2 separate regions of the Homo sapiens genome follow, and region 1 is linked to region 2. Evidence: promoter capture Hi-C in 16 types of primary human blood cells and fetal thymus (Javierre and others, 2016). All regions are on one chromosome and are shown on one strand. The core of a region is centred on a gene start or on the middle of the fragment in contact, and the rest is flanking DNA. Distances in the headings are between cores, read along the strand shown. Region 1 overlaps SLC10A7 (solute carrier family 10 member 7). Region 2 holds the start of ARHGAP10 (Rho GTPase activating protein 10).

Region 1 (6,792 bases), core at 3,637-6,136, 1.4 Mb before region 2:
AAATATGATCAAGGGATGACAGAATATTGGAGCTGGAAGTAAAATTACCTAATTTTAGAACCAAGGAAACTGAGGCCCAGGAAAGTATCAGTGGAAGAGCCAGGATGAGTATTTAGGTCTTATAATTCCAAGACAGCCTATGTCTATCATGTTATGAAAGTAGCTAAGGATTACATAGATATTACACTAGTACAGCATCATATTGGAGGATCTATTTCATGGTAGAACACTGCAAAAGCAAACAGAAATCCAATTTAACCCAACCCTTTTTAGCAAAACAACTACTTCATAGCACCTATCTGTTTGCCTGAAAATTAGCTTTTGGAGAGTACAAAGGACAGAAAATATGACTTTAGGATTAAGAAAAATAAAAAGACAAAAAACCCTGAATGGGTAGATATTCTGCTTATAGAAAAGCACACTGTTCACACTGCTGTGTGCTTCCTGAGTATGCGTTTTGCTCTTTGTTCAGCACAACTAGCTCTAGCACAGAACAGAGAAACAGAGAAAACCCTTTCTGGTTTTCCTGACAAAAGCAAGTCCTTAAAAGTATCCCAGAACTTGAAGTAAAATCAAAAAAAAAAAAGAAAAATAAGAACAATCTTCAAAATAGAAAAAAAAAAAAGTGGGTCAGGTTTGCAAGCCTGTTGCAGAAATGTGGGAATGTATTTGGTGCAGCCATGGTTCGGCCTATGCTCTAAGGATACAGGCTCATTCGATCCCTGCACTCTGTGTATCTGAGGAGTCTGGCAGCATCTGCCTCTGGACTCACTAACTTTATAAAAGTCCCTCTGGTTTTAGAAGACCTGAGACACCAGGCAGTACATGACAATAACACACATGGGAAAGAAGTGTAAGATGATTTCCTTGAGGTCAACAACTAAAATACACTTGTTACATGAAAATCTACAAGACAGGGGTCAGGAGACTCGAACCTTGGGAGTGGTAACATAGTTGTAACTAACATAGTTATTAGTAATCAATAAGAATAGCTACACCTTATAGAGTACTCACCAAGTGCCAGGCAGCACAGCAAGCTATTAGATGGGCTCTCTCATGTAGTCCACATCAATCTACTTACAGTATGATTATTGCACACATCTTGTCATTTATTGACTACCTATTATCTACCAAGTGCTGTGCCAGGTACTTAACAAATTTAGACTTTAATCTTTACAACAGCCTTACAAAATGAGTGTTATTCTGCCCCTTCTACAGATGAAAAGGTTAAGGTTCAGGGAAGTTAATTGATTTGTCTAAGGTCACAAAATTAGGATTGGAATATGGTTTCTAAGACTGTTTCAACTTCAATTTAATGATGATTATAGCTACACAGATACAAAAATAGAGCAGTGCATAGACTATATATATATAATTCAAATAAGCTGAAGCTCTCAATAACAACTGCTCCTAAGGGTTTGTCCAATTTCTAAATCATGTTCCAAACTTGGTAAGACTGACAGTAGACTATCAGACAAATATGTTTGGGATTAATAAAAACATTATGAAATGTCTTCATTTTCTAGTTCACAGACTGAATTTCCTTAACATAAGCAGACTAAGAACATTGTAATGATTCTTCATTCTCTTAAGTGACTCATGTGCTAAAATGTAGAGAAATTTTTAATATGAGTTTTTGCCATAACATGCCCACCACCCCAAGGAGTTTGTGACTGATGTATATTTCAATAAAGCTTCTGATTACTTAATGACTTTTAATGACTAAAAACATAGATTCCGGATGTGTAACAGGTTATTGGGATAATGCCACTAATTGGATAAAGCTAAGTAGAAAATAGCACTTTTCTTCTTAATCCATTTTTGTCCATTAAATAAATACTTATTTCACTTTTAGTGCTAATCTGATTGAGTTAATGATAACTATATTGTTTCTTTATAGAAATAACATTCAGAAATAAGCATCAAACTAATGTCAATATCAAATTAGAGTAATAACATTATTCCCACCTTGCTCTGAGCTGCTGGAAAATAAGTTAATCTTTTCCAGGGACAACTCTAGGGCCTGCCAAAGCAATGTTTTTGCCAATTCCCTATTTAGAAGTAGTTTCCACAGCATCTCCACCCCTGCTCTAATGTTACATTCTACATTGGTAATCTTGTATGAGAATTGAAAATATGATTATAAATTAAGCTAAGTTTTACAGTGTTAATTTTGGCCCACAGAGATTTGTTCAATCAAATAACAGAATTTCAAAGCAATGACCCACCCTCACTTTGCTACTGTTCCTTATCTAATAGTGTGGACAACACCCCATTCCATTTAATTTGAAGAGTTCTTTGAATATCAAAGTCATAAGATGTAACTATATGAGGGTAATAGGTGGTTTTTAACTCTGTGAATCACTTACCCAATGTAAGGGATTTGTGTGTAGAACAGAAAATGATAGCCACTGTGTCTGCTGGTGTGAAACCCGAATTATTCCTAGGGGCAAAAAAAGATTTTGACAAATACTTTTATAAAAAGCCAATTTAACACATTCAAAATCAAATGTAGTACCTACCTTTATGTTAACATCCCTTTGATCAATCCTGGTGACAGTAGTAATTCTACACCCAAATGTACAGAAGTGTCTGGATTTCTTTTTAGAGAACTACTTCTGAGTCATTTATCCATGAAAAGGAGAACAGTTGTAAAAATGTGTGGTGGAGGTCGCCTAAGATCACGTATATAATCAGCCCCTGGAGCAGGACTGATTATAAAAATAATGCAACAAGGAACTCTAAGTCTCTAGGTTACCACTTGAAATTTACCCAGTGGCTTGAAAGGATAAATATATCTCTAAAAATGCTCTTTTCAAGGAGCAACACATCCTTTTGGTAGCAAACACACACTTAAGAATACAGGGTATGAAAAAAGATTTAACATCATATATTTTAGTAAAAACAAATTATCATTTTTTGAGCAGTATCATGTATAGGCATTTCTCTAATGTCTTTACATGTAAAAGCAACAACCCCAAAAGGCAAGTGATGTAATGTTCCTATTTACAGATGAGAAAACTGAGGCACACAGAAGTGTATAATGTACTCAGGGCCCATGGTAGTAAGTGACAGAGCCAGGATTCAAACAGAGTCTAGTTCCCAGGCCTGTGTTCTTAATTACTATATTCTACTATTGTTATATACTATGTTAAACATTAAAAAAAACCTCACTGAGTCAAAACTAATTAAATGTTGTGGGGAGTCAGTACTGGGAATTGGATGTCATAATCAGATTTCCTGTTTTAGATAATAAGGGTTTAGAAAGCCAAAAAAGTTAAAAATGTCATTGTTATGATTGTGCCCTTATATTTTAGAAACTATTCTTTCCTGTGGAGTCAGGATATCAGGATTTGACTATATAGAGTCTATTCATTCCCTGCTCTGAACTCTGACAGAAGAGTTAGCAAATGGAAAAATGTTCTAGAAACTGACTCCATCTATACAGTTGCAGATATAACAATGTACCTGATTTTTAAGGCTCCCTAATGAAAGAGACCCAATCATTTCCCTTAGTAATCTCATCCCCATGCACGACTTTTGCTGGGAGAAAACTCTTCCCTAAATAGATCCCACATCCTGTTTTTCTTGTTGTATACCCACAGGAGGAGAGAAGAGTCCCCTCAACTCCCCGCCGGGTTCCCCCATCACCCCACCCTGCTTCCTCATCCCCTGTGCCTGTGTCAAGAGAATATTTAAAATGGCCTTTGGTCTCTCTTCTGAAAAGGCATGCATGTTTCTGCTTCCTAACCAGTTGTACTTCTAAGCTGTTTCTTGGTAACTTTCAAACTGAATTTTTGGTGTCTCACTTCAGTTGAGGATTCCCCATGGATGCATATCATATACTCTTATTGAGTATAATAAGACTGGCTTAATTGTTTCTACATTTTATTCTCATATTGATATTGTAATAGCATTCTTGTTTTTTAAACATTGCATTACATGGCTTTCATATTTCTTCATCCCTTTATTCCTCACAGTAGGCCTAATGGGGAAGGAGTTCCATAAGGTTCCGTAAATGCATGGGCTGAGAGATGAAAGCACTACAGACATACATGAGAAAGAGGAGAGGAGAGAGAAATAGAGTGCTTTCAGCTGAAAGAGAAGGATCACCTCTAGCTTGGCAGGGAAAGTAGGAGATGATGATAGAGCACAAATAACCTTCTGGGAAAAAATAACAATTGAGCTGAGCCTTAAAGAATAGATTTAGATATGTGCAGATGTGTGTTTTAGATAGGGGACAGTGAGACTGCAGTATGGGAGTGTAGGGGGCAGTTGGCAAAGAACAGATTCTTCAGGCTGACTTGTGTGCAGGGACACTGGCTTATGATCAGGAGTATGGAGTTGATATGATGGGATAAGGGGAACTGCTGAAGGAGTTGGGACAGTAGAATGACATAAGTAGATCCATTCTTAAGGAGAAGTGATCACACAGCATGGTGTAAGACTAAAGATGGTGAGGCTGGGCAGGAAGCAGGGAGCTCTAAGGGTCTAAAGAATCAGAGTGAAAACAGGAGATGGTGGAAAGAGACATGGAGATAGGATGAAAAGAATTTCTGTTAACTTCTGTGCAACAGTACCTCCCAACAGCTCAAGAGTGCAGGCTTTTGGAGCAAACACACCTGATTTTAATTCCAGGCCATCCTTTTTCTCATATGTAGAATGAGTATAAGACCTTCTGACTCTTAGGATCAATTGTGGGGATAAATGCCAGTGCTTGTTAAGAATGTGGCACAATGTAAATGTTGAACACAAGCTAGGGGATATTGATATTATTATTATTGCTTTGAGAGAGAAGGAAGAACCAAAGAGAAATTAGAAATTTTGAGTATATGGAACCAAGAGGAGCATTAAGGAAACAGAATTAAAGAGGAGGCTCAGTGAGCCTTGGGAAGGAGGCCAAGGAGTTGATGCTGATGTATGCTAGATTTGTAGTGGTGAGAAGGACTGAGTTTGTAGTGGTAAAAAGGACTGTGTTTGGAGTGGTGAGAAAGACTGTGTTTGGAGTGGTGAAAAGGACTGAATTTGGAGTGGTGAGAAGGACTGAACTTGGAGAGGTGAGAAAGACTGAATTTGGAGTGGTGAGAAGGACTGAGTTTGGAGTGGTGAGAAGGACTGTGTTTTGAGTGGTGAGAAGGACTGAGTTTGGAGTGGTGAGAAGGACTGTGTTTGGAGTGGTGAAAAGGACTGTGTTTGGAGTGGTGAGAAGGACTGTGTTTGGAGTGGTGAAAAGGACTGTGTTTGGAGTGGTGAGAAGGACTCTGGAGTGGTGAGAAGGACTGAGTTTGGAGTGGTGAGAAGGACTGTGTTTGGATTGGTGAGAAGGACTGAGTTTGGAGTGGTGAGAAGGACGGAGTTTGGAGTGGTGAGAAGGACCGTGTTTGGAGTGGTGAGAAGGACCGTGTTTGGAGTGGTGAGAAGGATCATGTTTGGAGTGGTGAGAAGGACCGTGTTTGGAGTGGTGAGAAGGACTGAGTTTGGAGTGGTGAGAAGGACTGTGTTTGGAGTGGTGAGAAGGACTGTGTTTGGAGTGGTGAGAAGGACTGAGTTTGGAGTGGTGAGAAGGACTGTGTTTGGAGTGGTGAGAAGGACTGTGTTTGGAGTGGTGAGAAGGACTCTGGAGTGGTGAGAAGGACTGAGTTTGGAGTGGTGAGAAGGACTGAGTTTGGAGTGGTGAGAAGGACTGTGTTTGGAGTGGTGAGAAGGACTGTGTTTGGAGTGGTGAGAAGGACTGTGTTTCGAGTGGTGAGAAGGACCGAGTCTGGAGTGGTGAGAAGGACCGTGTCTGGAGTGGTGAGAAGGACCGTGTCTGGAGTGGTGAGAAGGACCGTGTCTGGAGTGGTGAGAAGGACCGTGTCTGGAGTGGTGAGGAGGACTGTGTCTGGAGTGGTGAGAAGGACTGAGTTTGGAGTGGTGAGAAGGACTGTGTTTGGAGTGGTGAGAAGGACTGTGTTTGGAGTGGTGAGGGCTTGTGTTTGCAGTGGTGAGAAGGACTGTTTGGAGTGATGAGAAGGACTGTGTTTGGAGTGGTGAGAAGGACTGTGTTTGGAATGGTGAGAAGGACTGCGTTTGGAGTGGTGAGAAGGACTGAACTTGGAGAGTTGAGAAAGACTGAACTTGGAGTGGTGAGAAGGACTGAGTTTGGAGTGGTGAGAAGGACTGTGTTTGGAGTGGTGAGAAGGACTGTGTTTGGAGTGGTGAGAAGGACTGAGTTTAGAGTGGTGAGAGGGACTGAGTTTGGAGTGGTGAGAAGGACTGTGTTTCGAGTGGTGAGAAGGACCGAGTCTGGAGTGGTGAGAAGGACCGTGTCTGGAGTGGTGAGAAGGACCGTGTCTGGAGTGGTGAGAAGGACTGTGTCTGGAGTGGTGAGAACGACTGAGTTTGGACTGGTGAGAAGGACCGTCTTTGGAGTGGTAAGGACTGTGTTTTCAAGAAATCTGGCAAAGGGAAGAAAAAGGTCACAGGATATTTGACTATGATTATAAAGAGAAAGTGAAGACACGGCAGAGAGAAATACCTGATGAACATAGGTCCCAAAGAGGCCTGAGAAGCCAAGAATAAAGAAGTTATCTGGAGCAGGGCATTTCCTAACATATCTGAGCTGGAAGCAAAAGTGAACAAGGGGAGTGAAAAATATGGAGATTTTTCAGGTAGAGAACGGGCAAGCAGAGGCAAGTTATGTCAGAGATTTTACTTTCTTTGTAAAGTGTGAGCCAACTTTGAGTTAATTCCAAGGCCTGGGAATCAAATACATTAGAAAAGTTTGAAATTGGCAGATTGGAGAATATGAAT
Region 2 (5,995 bases), core at 2,195-4,694:
TGTGTGTGATTTTTCTTTTTCTTTTTTTTTGGGATGAGGCCAGTCTCCCCCAGAGACCAAAAGCACGGTGAGGACTGTTTTGTGTGCTGCTGCATCATGAGCACCTAATACGGTGCCTAATACATATAAATGATCAGTAAATATTTGTGGGAATAATTGATTAATTAAGATGAAACCTGGAAACTCAGTAGCATCTGCTTTTGTGGCCACTTTTCTTGAGTTCTGTCTTACATGGTTTAAAACCATGATTTAAGGGCTCTCCTGCCCCGAAAATCTTTCCCACATTGATGGAATGTAATCTGTCTCCTCCTCTCCCTCATCCCTCTCTTCAGCCCATCCTCCACACTTCCTTCTTCCTTGAGTCTCATTATTATCATAATTTTCAGCAGGCACTTTACAAACACAATTTCATTAAATCTTCTCAAGCAACCTGCAGCTGCAATGTCATCATCTCCATTTCACTGATGGTAAGTCTGAGGTTTACAGAAAATTACCTTTGCTAAGGTTGCACAACTGTTAAGTAGTAAAGCTGGAGCTGGAACTACTAAATATCTATCTTTCCACTGTCCACTGTACAGAGATTTCTCTTCAGTTAGTTATACTTATTCATTCCACATTTACTGATCACTTGTATACCAGACACTGCATAGGCATAGCTGAATAAAACAAAATTAATCAGGCCCCTCCACTCATGGTAATTATTGTGGACCTATTTGGTAATGAATTAAGATTCATATTCACTAGCTCTTTAACACTGGGTGTACATGTGTGTGAAGTGATAAGTAATATTTTTTATGATGTTTTGACATTGTTTTAAACAACTTTTTTTTTTCTCCAAATATCTAAAGAACTGGGCACACTGAATAAACCAGAGTTTTTACGGCTTGAAGTCTAATGTGGTAAAGGAGAAGCAGTTCTAGAGTAGTTCATCTTAAAAAAAATTTTTTATTGAGATATATTTCACAGACCAAAAGAAATCCACCCATTTATCACATACAATTAAGTGATTTTGAGTATATTCAGAATTGTGCAACCATTACCAAAATGTAAATTTAAATTGTTTTCGGCCAGGCTCGGCGGCTCACTCCCATAACTCCAGCAATTTGGGAGACCAAGGTGGGAGCATCATTTGAACTAAGGAGTTTGAGAAAAGCCTGGGCAACATAGTGAGACCCTATCTCTATGAAAAATAAAAATATTAATAATTTTCATCACCCTGAAAATAAACTCCTGACTACATATACCCTCCACTCTATCCCCCAGTCTCTAGCAACCACTAATCTTTCTGCCTCTATAGATTTACCTGTTTTGGACATTTAATATAAGTAGATAGTATTGGCCTTTTGCAGCTAGGTTCTTTTACTTAGTATAACGTTTTCACCGTTATTGTGCCGTAGCACGTGTCAGTACTTCATTCCTTTTTATTGTAGATTAATATTTCATTTTATGGACAAACATTTTGTGCATCCATTACACAGCTGACAAAGGACATTTTGGTTGATTCTACTTTTTGGCTATTACGAATAATGCTGCTATGAATATTTGTGTGTAAATATTTGCGTGGACATATATTTTCATTTCTTTTGGGTATATATCTAAGCGTGGACTTGCTGGGTCACACGGTAACCTCCATGTTCAATATTGAAGAAGTCTCAGCAGCCCCTCTATGAGAAAAGGTTTGGGTTTCTGCTCTGAGGATTGAGTGTGGTCAGTGCTTGGCTGTTTCGCTAGGCCCTCATTTTTGTTTACACCCCCTCTCTTCTTGTCTTTCTTCCCCTTTATTTGCCTCTTTTATTCTCTTTTCTGTAGACTCCAGTCTCCTGCTGGTTTTAGTAGGAACTGAAGCTTTCACCGCCTAAAAGTTATTTGTAAAACACTTTGAACTCTCTGGAGGATGGACATTAGAGTAATAATGTTTATCTGTGGGTTAGGCACTCCTGGTGCTGTTTTGTAACAAAAGGGCTTATTGAGTAGGAGGCTTATTTAACTTGTTCGGGAGGGTTACCCTCCTACAACATGCTGTCCAAACAGATTCTTAATTACCCAGCTGAGAGTCTGAACGTCTTGAGGAATTACTTTGAAGTTTCTCGTTAATATTACCATCATATCATGTAAGTCTATATCGCGAGTTTGTAGATGTATGGAGTTCCTAGTGGGTGCCCGGCACATAATAATTGCTTAATAAATTGCGATTATGAAACGTTACTCTAATGAACTATTAGTGTTTTTTTTTAAGAAATACTTTTTTTTTTTTTTGAGACATTGTCTCGCTCTGTCGCCCAGGCTGGAGTGCAGTGGCACCATCACGACTCACTGCAACCTCCGCCTCCTGGGTTCAAGCGATTCTCCTGCCTCAGCTGGGACTACAGGCACGTGCCACCGCACCCGGGTACTTTTTGTATTTTAAGTAGAGACGGGGTTTCACCATGTTAGCCAGCTGGTCTCCAACTCCTGACCTCAGGTGATCTACCCGCCTCCGTCTCCCAAAGTGTTGGGATTACAGGCGTGAGCCACCACGTCCGGCCTAAGGTATACATTTTAATACTTTAAAATGCCTAACTTTTTTTGGGACACACTGGAGTTGTTTCATAACACACAAAATAGGCTTTTTGAGGGCACTGACATAAATTCTCATTGATCGTCACCCCCACGCGGTGAAAACCACACGTTACCTGGCATGTTTTCCGGTAGTTATTTTTAGAATAATAAAGATCGTCTTCACCTACCCCAGCAAATTTAATGTGCTGAACACAACAGAAACAACTTTTCTGTGGTTTAGCCAGCCCTCTCTCTTCAACTAAGTTATTTAGTGCGGATACGCAGAGAAGTGTAATAGGAGCTGCTGGGCCACCAAGAAAACGCTCTTGCCATTGTAAGGCTTCGATCTCAAGCGGAGATTTACCACGCATCTCACTTTAAACTGGGAAAGGAACCGGGATAAGGAAAAGAGCCCCCTGTGCGAGTTCGTTCCCAGCTCGGGGTTGGGGGCGTCCCAGGATAAATGAGATAAATGAGTTAATCATCTCCTGCAAGGCAGCCACTTCAGAGTTATGTCGCCCGCCTGCGGGGACTAACGACTGCAATTAAGACGCTCCTTCTCGGTCCCGGTCGGGTTCCGTGCAGCGGGGAGCCGACTGTGAGTCACCCCGGCCCCGGGAGCCCAAGCAAAGGGGAGGGGAGAGCGCCCAGGGTGGAGGGGAGCCGCGGGGCGAAATTCTAGCCCCAGGACGCCTCGGAAGGAAGAGGAGGGGCAGCTGCGCGTGGGGAAGAGAAGGAAGAGGCGTCCAGGGAAGGGAAGGGAGGAAGAAGGAAGGCGGAGGAAAGAGAAGGGGACGAGCGGGAGCGCGGGCCCGGCCGGGTGGCGCCTCGGGGAGTGTCTGCCGCGCGGGGGCCGGGCGGGGCGGGGCCGCGGGCGCTCAGAGCTCGGCGGGGGCTGCCGGGATTGGGGCGCCGCAGCTAGCGCTGGTCTCGGTGGCAGCTCCTCCGCGCCGCAGGACTCGGCTCTACGGGACATGTCCGTGCCGCGCTCGCCGCGCGCCCGGGCCTGCTAGCTCCTCTGTGCTCCCTGAACGCGCGGCGCCGCACCTGGCAGCGGCCTCGGAGCTCGGCTCGGGCAGGAGCGCGCGGCCGTGCGCACCGCGCAGCGACCGCTGCCGTCATGGGGCTGCAGCCCCTGGAGTTCAGCGACTGCTACCTCGACAGCCCGTGGTTCCGGGAGAGGATCCGCGCTCACGAAGCGGAACTCGAGAGGACCAACAAGTTCATCAAAGAGCTCATTAAGGACGGGAAGAACCTCATCGCTGCGACGAAAAGTAAGCGGGGACGCGGGCGCGGACGGGCTGCGGCGTGGCGAGGCGGCTGGGGGAGCCTCTCTCGGCAGGAGACGGAGGGTCTTGTGTCCGGGGCCAGCAGCCAGAGGAACGGGGAATTCATTCCGGACCAGCCCAGCTCTCTCGGAACCCCGGGGGGTCCCTGGAATCATTCCTCCTCGAGGCAGCGCGGCGAGTCCCCATTCCCGCCCCTGCGGCTCTGCGGCGGCGGGAACCAGCTGCCAGCGGGCCCCGCCTGGGCCCCGCCTGGCCCCGGCCGAACACCCCTCGCTGAATGCGCGCTCCGCTGGACCGACCCTAGGCACTCCTGGCCCGGAGTCAGGTTTCATTGCTGCCTAAAGCTACTCACAATCTCTTACAAAACCGAGGCATCTGTTTGCCTAGTTTTGTTTTGTGACTTCTCAAAAGAAATTTCTTGGGGATTCTTTGAAACCCTGCGGGAGTGTTGAGTTTTCCAGAGTCCCCTTAAGCTTCACCTTTTCCCTCTCATTGTCTGATCTTCCCCGACAGTCCTGTTCCAGGTCCTTCACGTGCCAAACCAGAAAGTCCACCTGGCTTTATGCTGCTTCCGCACATTCCTCCCCTGCCGTGCTGAGGAGGGTTCAAAGATTGGGGTTTGGAAGGGTGAGCGGACAGCCTGCCCTCTAGCCTAGGCGGGCACTGCTTGCAAATAGGGAATTCCACCCCGGTTAGGCTTGGTGCCTTCCTCCCCTGAACTTCTGTCTCTTAAACTCGGAAGAAGACACGAGATACAGGAGAGATAACTGTATTTTAGTGTAGTTGAGGAGAGTCTTTCTAGGAGAGAAGGGGCCAAAATTCATGCAGAAATACTGAGTTAGTGATGCTACTGGAAAATGGGGCGGAATTAGCCCCAGTGAGGAGCTGGGCAGCCTGACCATCCCTTGGATCCATAACCCCTTCGGAGGATGGCGGTGAATGTCCCCTTTCCCCCTTTAAAAGACCTGTCCATACAGCAGACAGGGACTTGGGCAGTATCCAGCCTTGAGGGGCTGGGTTCTTAGGGCCTTCATCACTCACCTAGATTCTCAGTTCAGTAATTCTCAGCCTTAGGTATTCGTCCCTTGTACATTTGTTTGTAGATACCACCTCTGGGGAAAATCCCCCATCTCACTGTTCTCCCGACCGCGCCCCGCCCCATTTTTCAGTAAGGGCGATTAAAACATATTGATTATACTGTCTCGGGCACCCAGCATGGTGCCTGGTACAGTAAATATGCATTTAATGAATAAGTTGAAGTACATTTCTGTGGGAAGAATTTAGTGAGCCATCCCTGTAATTTTGGAGGCAAGTCACTCAACTTCTCTGGATGATCTCCAAGGTTCCTTTTGGTTCTCTGACCTCTTTGGTGTTGCAAAATCAGGACTGGGACTCACTTAGGGTTTTTTTGTTTTGTTTTTAAGTCTCTGCTGCTTGAATCAGAAATGGGACTCTGGGACATGTGACAAGTGGGCTTATTTGGTTGAGGGCTCTCCAGGCCCTTGGCATCTGGTATGTGTGTTGGGTGGGAAGTAGGGGGGCGCCTATACATATGGAGGAGTGAGCATAGAAAGGAGGAGTTGGGAGCGGGGGTGCAGAGTGAACACGAGAGAATGAGGACTGAGGACTCTTTCTGTAACTTGATGTTAACCAGAGTCAGTGGCCGGGAGAATGTACCTTCTCTCTCATTGGTTGTAGTAGTTCCCTCTGGAGCTAGAGAGGTGTGGAGAGAGGCAGAGGGCAAAGCCAGTTTGGCCACTGGTAGAAAGCTATTTCTGTGACAGCATATTAGCTTTCCTGCCATCAGGACACATGCGTTAGGTTCCAGCAGCAGCCAGTGCATCTGGGGGGCCAGATGTCAGCTTTCCTCCAGACTGTAGACTTTCTTGAATTTGTGAATTAGTATCTTACTCATTTTGATTCTCGTCCTTTAGCATAAGAAACATAACTTGTAATCATGCTTTGAGAGTAATTGGGAAGTGTCTTTTTTTCTCGTTATGTTCATTAAGAATTTATGTTTAAATTCTTTCCCAGAAGGTGACAGGAACACAGCTGTAGCTCACATGCCTTTTCCCGCTTGCTCCATAAAGTTTACTTCTAGTTCCTATCAAAGACTAAGAGCCTTGGACTAAAGTCAGGGGACCTGAATTTAATTCTTCTTCACTGGT

The links. The method cuts DNA at HindIII sites, captures the fragments that hold promoters and counts their contacts. A CHiCAGO score of 5 or more calls a contact.
Region 1: a contact is called between a fragment that was not itself captured here and the fragment with the promoter of ARHGAP10 in region 2, in 1 of 17 cell types (M0 macrophages). The highest score is 7.1, in M0 macrophages.

The regions. Positions count from the first base shown.
Region 1 is chr4:146,280,823-146,287,614 of GRCh38, forward strand. It overlaps SLC10A7 (solute carrier family 10 member 7), which reads right to left. Exons shown (of 12, transcript NM_001029998.6): 10 at 2,370-2,443. Among named protein-coding and RNA genes, the nearest start is that of REELD1, 70 kb to the left of the region's middle. The HindIII fragment of the contact is 6,389 bases long and covers 1,693-6,792 here.
Region 2 is chr4:147,728,644-147,734,638 of GRCh38, forward strand. ARHGAP10 (Rho GTPase activating protein 10) reads left to right here and starts at 3,445. Exons shown (of 23, transcript NM_024605.4): 1 at 3,445-3,812. The coding sequence starts at 3,659. RefSeq lists enhancers at 3,056-3,948, 3,949-4,841, 4,162-4,231, 5,360-5,489 and silencers at 3,142-3,661, 3,972-4,051. The HindIII fragment of the contact is 2,455 bases long and covers 1,844-4,298 here.